Linked DNA regions of Homo sapiens: regions 1 and 3 are each linked to region 2. The links are contacts of gene promoters, found by promoter capture Hi-C in human tissues and cell types (Jung and others, 2019). All regions are on one chromosome and are shown on one strand. The core of a region is centred on a gene start or on the middle of the fragment in contact, and the rest is flanking DNA. Distances in the headings are between cores, read along the strand shown.

The links. Contacts are between HindIII fragments. The study calls those that stand out against the background at their distance.
Region 1: a fragment that was not itself captured here is called in contact with the fragment with the promoter of CDH19 in region 2 in 2 of the 25 tissues and cell types used here (dorsolateral prefrontal cortex and hippocampus).
Region 3: a contact is called between a fragment that was not itself captured here and the fragment with the promoter of CDH19 in region 2, in 2 of the 25 tissues and cell types used here (H1 embryonic stem cells and hippocampus).

What each region holds. Positions count from the first base shown.
Region 1 is chr18:66,531,394-66,535,655 of GRCh38, forward strand. CDH19 (cadherin 19) reads right to left here. Exons shown (of 12, transcript NM_021153.4): 8 at 3,593-3,714. Among named protein-coding and RNA genes, the nearest start is that of CDH19, 71 kb to the right of the region's middle. The HindIII fragment of the contact is 3,231 bases long and covers 1-2,936 here.
Region 2 is chr18:66,601,291-66,605,561 of GRCh38, forward strand. CDH19 (cadherin 19) reads right to left here and starts at 2,800. Exons shown (of 12, transcript NM_021153.4): 1 at 2,664-2,800. The HindIII fragment of the contact is 13,282 bases long and covers 1-4,271 here.
Region 3 is chr18:66,687,647-66,692,062 of GRCh38, forward strand. No RefSeq gene overlaps it. Among named protein-coding and RNA genes, the nearest start is that of CDH19, 86 kb to the left of the region's middle. The HindIII fragment of the contact is 3,473 bases long and covers 338-3,810 here.

The DNA of each region.
Region 1 (4,262 bases), core at 71-2,570, 71 kb before region 2:
ATAACTTGAACTCAGGAGTTTGAGAGCAGCCTGAGCAATATAGTGAGACCTCATCTCTACTAAAAATCCAAAAAAATTAGCTGAGTGTAGTAGTGTACATTGTAGTCTCAGCTACTTGGGAGGCTGAGGTGGGAGAATCGCTTGAGCAGGAGGTTGTGGCAGCAGTGAGCTGTGATCGGGCTACTGCACTCCAGCCTGGGCTACAGAGTGAAACCCTGACTCAGATAAAAGAGTCAATGTAACACATTTTTATTGTGAGCTCTAAAACTGGATGACTTGAGTTTGAATCTTGTTTCTCAATTTGAGAAAAATACTTAACCAGAATGCCTCAGTTGGCATTCTGAAAAATGGGTGTGATAGTAGTACCTGCCTTATAGGGTTGTTGTTAAGATTAAACATATACATAAAGCAATTGCATAAATTACATGAAGCAATTACACAAATTGGTTAATATACATAAGGCAATTAAGAGTACTTAGTACATAACTGAACAATGAATGTTAAATATTATTGTTTTGTTGCATCTACTAACCAGACATGTATTTTGTGAACTGAAAAAAGTAAGTTGCAGCTATTATATTGTGTAGGTTTATTGTTTTTAATCTTTCTCTCTCTCAGGCTGTAGTGCAGTGGCAGGATCCCAGCTCACTGCAACCTCCACCTCCTAGGCTCAAGCGATTCTCCTGCCTCAGCCTCCCTAGTAGCTGAAACTACAGGCACATGCCACCAGGACTGGCTAATTTTCGTATTTTTAGTAGAGACAGGCTTTTGCCATGTTGGCAACGGTGATCACAAACTCCTGACCCCAGGTTATCCACCCACCTTGGCCTCCTAAAGTGCTGGAATTACAGGCTTAAGTCATCATACAGGGCCTCTCTTTTTCATAAAAAAAAAAGAAAGCTATAGGAAAGGTGCATACAATTAAAGGGTATAGGAGTGGGATTCTTTAGTTTGTTTTAGTGTTTTTATTTAAAATATATGTACTATTTGCAATGATAATTTGAAAGAACAAAACAAATTAAAAATTAGAGGCCTTGTACTTGTTGAAAGCAAGGGAAAATATTTTTTCTTTCCTTCCTTTTCTCAGAGCATTCATACACACACACACACACACACACACACACACAGAGAAAGAGAGAGAGAGAGGGAAAAAAAAAGCTTTGTATGTAAGTTTTTTCTTTGTCCCTTTGAAGCGTATGGAAATCTTTCAAAAGTTCAACAAGTTTCTTGGAAGCTTTAGGATCCAGGATTGTATTTATCAAGTAATGGTGACCATCTCTTTGAAATGTAATCTTCAAGGAATACAGCATCCCTATATCCTAGATGTGGGGAAGGATAGGAGACTCATTTTAGCAACGATCTTGTTCTAAGTTGTAGAACTACCTCTTGTCATAAAGACATGAAAAGTTAAGTTGTCCTTTGGATAAAACCACTTAGCAAATACAGGCGGTCACTCCAACTACCCAGTGAATATAGAATGAATTCTATGTGACAAATAGTGCTAAGTCCTCATACTTGAATATCTAGATAATATTTAACTTGAGAACATGTATATATTGGATTGCACCTGCTTGACCACATAAAAAGGTGAGATTTCTTTCCATTTTGGCAATCTCTTAGATTTCCTATGATGCAGATCACATTGTGTTTTAATGCTTTCCAGTAATAAAATTTTTCTCTCTGTTCTACCTTTGAGGGGAGGTTTTCTGGGCTGGGATGAGATTTTGCTTAAAATTGAATTTTCCCAACAATAACAGTTACAATTAAGATAGAAATTGTAATTTTCAATTAACTAAAAATTAAAATTTCTAGGATTTATTACACACACACACACACACACACACACATCCATGGCCTTTAAGAAATACAGCAACTATTAGTATTTATCATTTTGAGACTTTTCTCCATTGTGTGACATTTAGGATGAAAATAAATTAATGGAACATTTAAAAATGAAAAGGTATTTCTAAAGATTTCAAGAAGAAATTAACCAGAAAATTTAGGTTCGTATTTGTTATGGTTTCAGCGCATACATCATCACAGAATATCTTTTTGCTTAAATAATTAAATTGTATAATGTAATTCAGTTGTGAATAAACTGACAGAAAATTAATAAGAAATTCATAATGTTTTTATCTTTGTGTTCCTAAACTTTGCTTGAAATTAAGTTAAATTAAACCTTTGGTATTACTGCACAAAATGTATATAAAACTTCACAGCTTCACCTTAAAATAGTAGTTTTATTCACTTAGCTAGCATACTGATAAATAGCATTGTGCTTAATTTGGGAAGCTTTCCAGAAAAGAGACTAAGCACAACGAACTTCATTTGCTGGAAAAAAAAAATTTTTAAATGGAACATCTCTTTCCTATAATCAGTATAATTGCTATGGTGAAAGCTTTTCAAGGTAGTTAGCAAATGCAGCTAGATGATTTTTAAAACAGTTTTATGTAATGCCCTGTTTTCCACCAGTAGGTGGTTTGTTTATATTGCTATTGAAGCTTAAATGGTCAAGCCTAATTATTTTTGGTTCAATATTGATTTCACAGTAGTAAAAAAATGGCAGTTACACATATTTTCCCCAAATAGATCTAAAATGGGCTTAATGATGTAGAATTTTTTAAAATGTTAGAGAAAGAAAAAAAATGAAAATTTGTTATCCAGTGTTATAAAAGCTTGTTCCAACAAGTTTTTCCTTAAAATGAAAAAAAAAAATTGTTCTCAGAAATACACAATGAATAAAAGCTGCATTTAAAATAAACATCTTTGCATTTTCTGACACGAGAAGCCTTGACATTTCCTCTGTTACAGCGGGCATTTATTCCATTGTAACATTTGCCTCCTTTTATGGTTTAGTTAAATGGAACCTTGAAAACCCAGATTCAAGCTCTCCTACAGTGTTTCCATAGAACTGTTCATTGTATCGCAAATAATATGCGGAGATGCCTTCCACTCCACCATATCACCTGCCATCTGCCTGATAAAGTAAGGAAAAGAGAGATATCTGCTCCCTGCCTCAACAAAGAGTGAAGAAAGGAAACAGGATTATTAAAATTCTATGTAAAATCAGCTATAAGAAAAGATGCATCTGAGAATATTTTATATTTGTAATTTTAATACTTTACAATTCTAAATCTATTGACTAAGTAATGGAAATGACTTCGATATTTTATATTGTGTTATATTTATTTCTTTAAGCTTTAATAAATATAATTGTATGAATAATGGATTCATGATTTTAAGGACAATATCCAAGTGGTAAATCAGAAAAATTTACAACCCGAAAACGAAATCATCCACCTAAATAAACAAGCAGAATTTCAGGTGAATTTCATTTGTATTTTGTTGTTTCCTCAATTTATTCTTGTATGGAAAATTATTTACTGTTATAATTAGAAAATAGTTTAGAAGGTATTTAGTGGTAAGCATATAAATAAAAACTAATAAAATACGCAAGTACACACATTTACATTGAATGTCATTTAAATAATTCCAACAACATTTTAAAGTAGCCTTGTCCCCATGTATAGAAATTTGTAATTATTTACAAAATATGGCAAACAACTGTATTGGATTTCAAATGAGTACTTACATTTTTCTGTGGCTGTAATACTTAGGTTGTACCAAGCACTGATTTCACGATCCAGTGAGTTACTTGTAGTGATTGTACCATTATCATTGATATTGAACACTTTGCTCCTAGTAATAGAATACCTGAACCAAAAGGAAAGTATACCTTAATATTTTTATTCTATCTGCATAACAGTGTTAGATAATACTCTTTAAGCAATAAGACATCTTATTCAATGCATGCTCTACATAGCCAATATATAATACCGAACAACTTTTAAAACAGTATATTCCTGTATTTAAGATTCAACTCAGTGGAGATAGAAAAAAAGACGTAACATGACTTTAGATTTAAATTGATGGATGCTAAATCTAAAATTAATGATTGTGAATCTTTTTTTCCTATCAAATAAATTAAAATATATCTTCAGCCTAGACGAGTATTGATCTCTTTCCTATGTCACAGGTGTTGCTTGCGAATCTGTTCATTTTACTACAACTACTTGGCTTGATATTTAACAAATGTTTTTGTTTGTTTAAAAAGTAAATTTGATAAAAAGTAAAGTCTATATAGTAGATAGAATTTTAATTCTTTTGGGAAACCTGAAAGACTTCTGAAATCTGGAATCTGGAATCAGGAATCCAAAATATTTATATATATATATATATAAACATATATATAATACATTATA
Region 2 (4,271 bases), core at 1,550-4,049:
TGTATTTATGATTTGCTCATTTCCACAGGAATGACATTTCTAAATTTTGCACACAGATAAAACTGCCTAGGTTATTTTAAGACATGACTGATGTGCCAAAATTATCCCCACTTTAATACAGTATCTTGCAAATTTGCAAATTTCATTTATCATGAAACTTCTTAGAATTAAAAAACAGCTAAACTGGATCTACTGCTCTGGTATGTTGAGAAACCACTGTCCTAAAATAACATTTCAAATTTCACGTGTTGTGCCAAGGCAGGATTTTTAAAAATGATGTTTTGCTTTAATCTTAAGACATACTTGGATGATTCTGAATATAATTATTGAGTAATTAATGTGACACATTTTGACAAAGGTATGTATTCTAGAGTATGTTTTAAATTCAGACAAGCATTCTCTTAACGAATCATATCAGCATATTCAAGAGGGCAGGCATCATTTGAAAAGGAAATTGATCTGTTACACATTTTGACAGGCTTTAGAGCATTTAGCTGTGTTCTCTCAATTGAAAGGTGGTGAGAGTGGGTAAAAAAAAACGCTGTAAGGGTACAGTTTATCTTGTTTTGTTTTGATTTGATTTTAAAGTGGCAAACATCTTTCTAGTCACTTTTGCAAAGACACTCATTTTGTCAATCAGGGGCTGTCTTCACCATTGATAGAAAGGATTCCTGTGGGATTATTATTACGTTCCATACTTAGTTGTGTTTCAACTTCAATCTGTTTCACCAAAGCAAAGATACAGGTGATAGAAGATCATCGATGTTAAAGGAAATCGTCGTGACAACAAATTTTTCTTATTCACCAGCATGGTTCTCAAACACTTGGTTAGGAGCAATAAATTCTCATGTAAAGAAGGTATATAGAAAGATCAATATCTCCTTTTAAACAGTTTAACACATTTATTCCTAATGCATTACTACTCACTAACATGCTGAATACTGCTATGTAATGTTTTAAACATAACATATATTTAAGAGTACATGCTAAGATCATGAGTGGCAAAAATGATCAGTTGATATTTAGTTATAGATGATATGTATCAGATTATATGTAGCTGTATTAGGAGAAATTCCTGAAAGATGGATCTGGTTTCTTAATAATGCATAGGAGGCATCTGTGCACATCATTTTAAAGCATCTTCAATTTATGATAATTTAATCAAAAATTTTTTTATGTTTCTTGAGGAAATGTACCTTACAAACATTCCTAAGTGAAAAACAAAACAAAACAAAAAATATAAGTAGAAGACATATGCTTTTCGATATATGCAGATGTGTCTGTGTGTGCCTAAAATTATAAATATTTCACTGGAGCCTAAGTAAAGAATTTACTAATGTGTAAGACTGTAAAAATCAGATATTTATATAATGATATGAGCATTTCGTTCACTGTTATAAAGGCTTGGTAAAGTGGAAAACATATGTAAAGGAAAGGAGATCTGGTGGTTTCTAAATGACATAAATTGATTGTTTAAAAATTTTGAATAATTGCAGACAATAATGAAATGCTTATTCCTTTTAAAAATAAATTGTTAGTTATTTTATTTGGTCAATATAAATGTTCACATTACATTGAAATTTAAATTCTTTGAAATCAAAAATTATAGTAAGTAGGCATACTGCTGATAATTACAATATTAAGAATTTGAAAAAAGAATATATTAATGCATATAATTTTACTTAATATTGTAACTACATCTAAAACATAAATATATATTACTAAATTTTCAAATATTTTATCTAAATAATGTCTTTCTTACAGATATATTAATTCAACAAATGAATTAATAGAGCTAAAATATAAATTGACATAATCTAAAGAAAACCTTTGCCACTCTATTTAGGTATTTTTTGTTGCTAAATATTTTATGTTTTTATATTTAATAGATTTATTAAATCCCTTTGGTAAACTTATTTTGAAATATTTTATTATAATTAGTTATTCAATTAAAATTGCATGTACCAAATTAGAATTGAAACAATATAAAATGTCTTTTACAGTATGCATTTTCCTAATTTATACTTTTCTTAATTTATACTTTCATATTTGAGAAATTACCTTTTGTGTTATGTATAAATGTTATAATACATATAGGTAAATTAATATGCCTGTACAATTTTAGGCATATATGTGTTTTTATTCATAGCAATGCTAATATTTTAATTTTTTTGGAATTATAATATACTTAAAATTTTTCATATTTATTCTGTATATATTTTTTCTCATATACTTAATGATGACAACTCTATTGTTCATATTACCTGATATACATGGTAAATACATGATAAATAAAAAATAAAACCCTGAACAAAGAAAAAAGTGCAAAGAAAGACATGCAAAGAAAGGTTGATTCATTTATTCTAAGAAACTTGAGAAGTTTTAAATATCCTAACATAGGTGTAACTTCCCCCCAACACCAACAATCTGTATTACAGAGATGGAGAACTGTTCTCACAAATACGTGTTTTGAGAAAGTTCAGTACAAGTACACATCATGGTTTTAAAATTTTTAGAATATTTTCCTTATTTCCTATGTAAATATTTTCCTTAATATTTTTAGAATATTTTCCTAGCAACATTTTGTCATGTACTTTTTGACCTATTGACTCATTAAAGATGATGCATGTAGTTTATAATATGCCTGATTATCACAGTCTTACCTTTGTAACTTCAACTTCTAGAAGTTCTGTGAAAACTGAACAGCAAACTTCGTGTTGGACACATAAGGAAGAGTAGGAAAAACTTTCTTCTTTTTGCTTCACAGTCTTCTCAGCAAACTCTCGATGTGCCCCATTGCCCAGAGTTACAGACGCTTGTGCTTTTAGTACCACAACACTGTCAGTATGTCACTGCTTACTCAATGCTATTTTGGGTTCTCTGAGTAGAGTCATAAACACTGAGCCTTTTGTGCAAAATATCATAAGGGCACTCTGACGCTCGTTCATAGTCTGGAATTAAAATGCAGACAGCTACGCAAGTAGTATGAGCTGATTATCTTTGTTTTTTTTTTTTTTCCCCTAACAACAAGCAAAAACAAAATAAAGTACTTATTGGCCTGAGTTGATAAAGGGAGAATTCAACTTACATACAAGAATTTTGCAAGTAGAGCGGACGTGCCCTCTGTTTGGGGATTAGCTGATGAAACAAATGATCAATTTAAAGCAGACCCAAAACTTACTGAAAAGAGAAATGATTTTCCACTGTGTGTCTATGCCTCATGGCTGTTTCTTAATTCGGTCATTTCTCCTCAGAAATCAAGTAAAGACATAATGAGAGAGAAATGTCTAAACTTTAATAAGTCCTTTTCTTTTCCTTGGTTTATTATTATGTAAAATCTTTTATTTTATTCATGGTTATAATTAGATTTTGATATAAGCTATTATTATTTAACATAAAATACATATGTATTTTCTATGCTGTTTACTCAAGCTGTTATTTACTTAAAAACCATTTTTGAACCAAACTAGAGAAACATTAAAATATTAAAAGTTTCTTAAATTATACCTATATAATAAGAAAGTCTATGTGGGGCAGGATTATTCAAGCATCCTGTTAATTCTGATAGATATTTTGGTCACTATCCTCTTAGCTTTTGAGGAAAGAAATGGCAAAAGCTATATGGGCAGTAAAGTAGGACACTCAAGCACACACATATACACACATGCACATGTGCACACATGCATACACATACATGTGCACACACATACATATGCACACACACGCACAAATGCACATCCTATGAGGTTGTGAATATTAGGAGGAATCAATAATTTATGAACAAATCTTGAAGAGATGAACCTGGGAGAATAGATCTGTGGATAGCAGGAACAGTATAATGTGGAAATATTTTATTTTTTCAGGTAGAAAAAAGCATTCAGCTAGAAAAAAACACTTCTAAGTGTTTCAAGATGTTAGTAAATAGGGAAAAAATAAATTTTACAAAGAACCTCTGAAGTATTCTTATACATTTCCCCCTTCATATTTTTTACAGTATCAAAAAAGGTGGAGATACCTGTTTAAAATATTTATTTACATAATTCACTGTTCTGTCTATGACCTAGTCTAGGATTTCTGTAAGAATCTAACATTTTATGAGATGCCAATTTATATCTTGATGTTTATAAAATATCCAGTTGCACTTAGGATTGAAACCACAGTTTAGAGCCTCAGTGTACCTGTAAACATGATGTCCCAAAGGCTTATTTTAGAGCCTAAGGGAGCAAAGGTGGGTCACAATTTGCTGCCCTGATTATTACAGTACCAATAAA
Region 3 (4,416 bases), core at 824-3,323, 86 kb after region 2:
GACAATGGAAGTTAAAAGGCATAGTACATGTGAGCTAATTCCTACCAGTTAAGCCAAGCTTCCCTTTTCATGGACAGAGGACATGCCAATATCCATGGCATAAATGAGGTTTAGGGAAATCGAAGGCTACTGCCAGGTGGGGGAAAGGCAGTGCATGGGTAAGAGCTGATAATCCTACCGACTAGGGCCCCTGTTAGCATGGGTGAAAGCCACACTGGCAACCATGGGAGTCACCCTGTCCAGGTCGCTGGGACTCGGGGATATAAAGTCAAAAGAAGTAACGAGGACACTTTTTCCTTCTCTCCCTCTCAATCCCCAGGTATTTTCTAGGAAGAGAAAGGAATGAGGGATATCTGGCTCCCTCCTTTCTAGATGAGTAGCCATTCATCTTCAGTCTTTCCCCTTTTCAAATGCATCCTTAACCCTGAAGCTCCTTTGAAAAAAAATCCCTTCGTTTTTCCTTTTTCCTTCTCTGTCCTGTCTTCACATATGGGTAATTGTGTGCCCAAACTACAGGATACTTCCCTTAGATGCATTTTCCAAACTGAGAAAAGTTAATTTCCCAAACCTTAAACTGGTTGGCTTAGAAATGAGATCAGTGTAAGGGAACCCAGAAGCTTGACATGCTGGAAAAAGGGTAAAAGTTTTTGTTACCAGTTGGACTTTGGACCTCCCTCTCCTTATGCAAAGCAGTAAAAGGAATGATAAAGATAATTGTTTATTTTATCTGTAAATATATATATATATATATAATATATATTTTTTGAGATGAAGTCTTAGTCTGTCACCCAGGTTGGAGTATAGTGAAACCTCCACTTCCTTGGTTCAAGCAATTCTCCTGCCTCAGCCTCCTGAGTAGCTGGAATTACAGGTGCATGCCACCACCTCTGCTAATTTTTGTATTTTTAGTAGAGATGGCGTTTCACCTTGTTGGCCAGGCTGGTCTTGAACTCCTGACCTCAAGTGATCCACCCGCCTTGGCATCCCAAAGTGCTGAGATTACAGGCATGAACCATCACACCTGGCCCTAAAATTCTGATTAATGAAAAATAATCTATGAGTTTGGTATTAAGCTTTAGCCAATCTGGTGTGCTTTGTGTCTCTTAATTGAGGCTTGTTGGGTTCACCTGCTAGGTCATGTTTGATAAAGTTCAAAGCCAGCAATATTGAATGCTTGGAATGACTAAAGTCAGGTAATAAGGGATTTAAAAGGAATTTCTTAAACAGTGTCCAGCTTATTAAAAGTGGATATCCAAGTTATATCTATATTTAAAAGGCCTTTGTGTTTTTCTCTTCTTGGATCTTTTTTTTTTTCTGAAAAAGGTTTTTTCTCAGTCAACTGAATTACTTTTCTCCACCTAGTATTGTCACTATTAATGCATGCATGTGAGGCTTAAAGATAATTTCTGATGGCCTGGGGCTCCTTGGGAAAAACAGAAAAGGCTCCATGGATTCCATATGGGTGAAATCTCTGTTTTTCTTGTGCAACCCCAGGAATTAGAGGCAAAGAGGTCCTTCGCAAAAGCTGTTTTTGTCTTACAGCTATACCTGTTTATTAGGCCCTAGAAACTGCATGCTTTCCTAGCCCTGCTCTTAAAGGGTCCCACCTGGAGGCCAATAATCCAATTAGGAGATTGGCAAAGGAAAAATCTTACAGCTACTGGATCTTCTTCTGTTTGTCCATGTAGTCATATATGTGTTGTGTGTACCTATAAAAAAGAGCTTGAATTAATTGGCTTAAAGAAAAATAAGCACATTGATTAAATTTTTTTGAAGGAAAAGTAAAAGCTTTAATGGCTTTAAGTTCATGTGACCATAATATTTGAAAAATAAAAACAGTCTTAAAGATTATTGGTAAAATGCAGATGCCATTAAAATGTAAATAGATGGTCTAAATTATGCAAGTCAGATACTAGGTTTGCTAAATGTTTTAAGGTTGTAAATTGCTTCTTTGGCCTTTGAAAACTGTTCAACTTGCTTGCTTTACAACTTGGTAAGACCTGGGGACATACTGGAATTAACGACACCCTTCACTATGGTGGAAGGTGTTAAACTTTATCAGTGCCTAGTGCATAATTGAAACAACTTACCAGATTTTACATTAAAGTTAAAAATTGCTGAAAGTTACCATTAAAACATGTAATTGAGTCCACTGAAAACAGATTTACATGCAAGGTAGGTAAGGACAGTAAACTGTGTTTTTAGTAAAAAGATATAAGAAGGCATGGAAATGTAAATTTTTGCCTAGTGGTAAAATATTGTTTTAAATTAGATAAAATAAAGCTAAAGGTTTAAACAAGTTGTAGAAAGTTTCTAAAAATCAATCATGCAAAAGAATTCTGTGTGTGAACATTCATTAAATTCAAAAGAGTATAATATATGATTTTTCTATAAATTGAGCATTGGAATAAAAGCACAGGACTATTCCCTTAAGGCACAATTCTGCTTTTTAGCAAAATTTGTCAAGGGTTATAAAAGGTTTACAAGACTCTTACTTCATGGTCAAAATGGTTAAGATTGGATAGAATTGTCTGTAAGTTTTCATTTGAAAATTGGGGTTGATATTAATAGTAAACTAATATAAGGATAACATTTGGCTTTCTCTCTCTTGTACAAGATTTTCATGTAATAGTGAAGGGTAATGAAAGATTACCATTTGCCCTGCAGATAGACTGCCAAGGAAAATAAAGAGAAGACAGGAGACAAATTCCTCCCTCTTAATGAGTAAAGATTTTTGCCTTTTTAAAAATTTTTGAGTCATCATTTTGACAAAATAAATAACTTATGGTAATCTGTAATTGTATCTCATAATGTCAAGTGTTTAAAGCTCTAACATATTTAACAGGCTTCTCAAAATCAAACTTCAGTTTCAAAATTGTCTTTCCTGGACCCTATCTTTTGGATGCTACACGGGGCCCCTGGAGCATCCAGAAGGAGTTAAACTGTATTATTAGACATGTTTAGATATGTGGGATTGCCAAAATGATGTTTAATCTTCTTCATGTTATATTTTAAGGAATAATATTAATATATGTTCCAAAATTGCATGGGATTTCTAGAAATTCTAATGTCTGAGTATATGCTGTCAATCATAATTAAGGTTATGTTAAAGTATTGTAAACCATGGAGATAAACAAAATTATTTGTCAATTGTGTTTTTAACTGTAACTACCCTGGACATTTTGTCATTTGGGGACAATTCGTGTCTTGTTTTGATCCTCTTCAAAAGATGGTTTATAATCAGCTATAGAACTTTGACAGGTGTTCTCAATGTGGATTTCTGATAATTTTGAGGATTGTGAGGTTGGAATAAAATTAAAACATACAGGACTCATGAAGAGATGAAATGTTAATGAATATCAAGCAAAACAAGAGTTAATGGAATGGACTGAAGTAATAGAAAACTCAAGTAATCTTTTTTTTTAAATGTTTTGCTTGAAATATTGCTGATCCGTGTTTTGTTTTTTAGAGTCAAGGAAGCTTTTATTTTTAGCCACTTATAGTCTTTAATAATTGAGTAAGGTATATTCCTGTGAACTGAAGCATGTTTGTTTCTCTCTGCCTGATTCCTCTAGAATTTGGAAACTATCTGTTAGTATTCTCGACTTATGGAAATATGGCTATTTGCATCAGTGCAATAAGAATACATTTTCTTTTGCAACAGGAAGCAATTAGAGATCCAAGGCTTCGAATAGAAGAGTAGCTTCCCTTTCAGGAATCAGTCTCGACTTGCATAGCTGATAAAAACCCCTTGGGAAAACTGGCCTCATACTTTGTCCACACAATCCCTTTACAAGTTCCCTAACCTGTGATGAGTAAAGAATGTCACTTTCTAACAGGTCCAGGAACCCCATATTCTTGGGACCTGAAGAAGAGAGGAATTCACGCAACTCACAGATATTTGAGGGTACAAACCCATGCCTGTGTTTGGCTTTAAAAAGTCCTATCTGAGATTCCTTGTGGAACAGAGTTCCATCAAAGCCAATTTTAAAAGCCTTTGTAAAAATAATTATTCTTGCTGTACTTTAGGTGAATAATCAGGCCTAATAGAAGACCATTTATTTTGCAAACAACTCAGTCCTATCATGATTTGCTTTTAACAAAAATGAGGACTGGAGAGAGATAAATTATGTTTCAAAGCTTATCATATTTGTCATTAAATTATAGCCCCATTAGTTGTTTTTAAGTTTTTTGCCTACATTTTGGCATAACCCTGCTTATTCCTATAAACCAACCAGTGATTTCCAGCTACAGCTCAGAAGATACAAAAGGGATGCGTACTGCAAAAATCTGGATTAGTATTCTAGTTCTGGGCAATTATCCTGCAAATCCTGCCAGGTGATGGGAGTAAATAGGGTGCCCATAACCCAGAGGTTTCTTTTTTGGGAAAATAAAACCAAGGGAGCTAATCAAAGC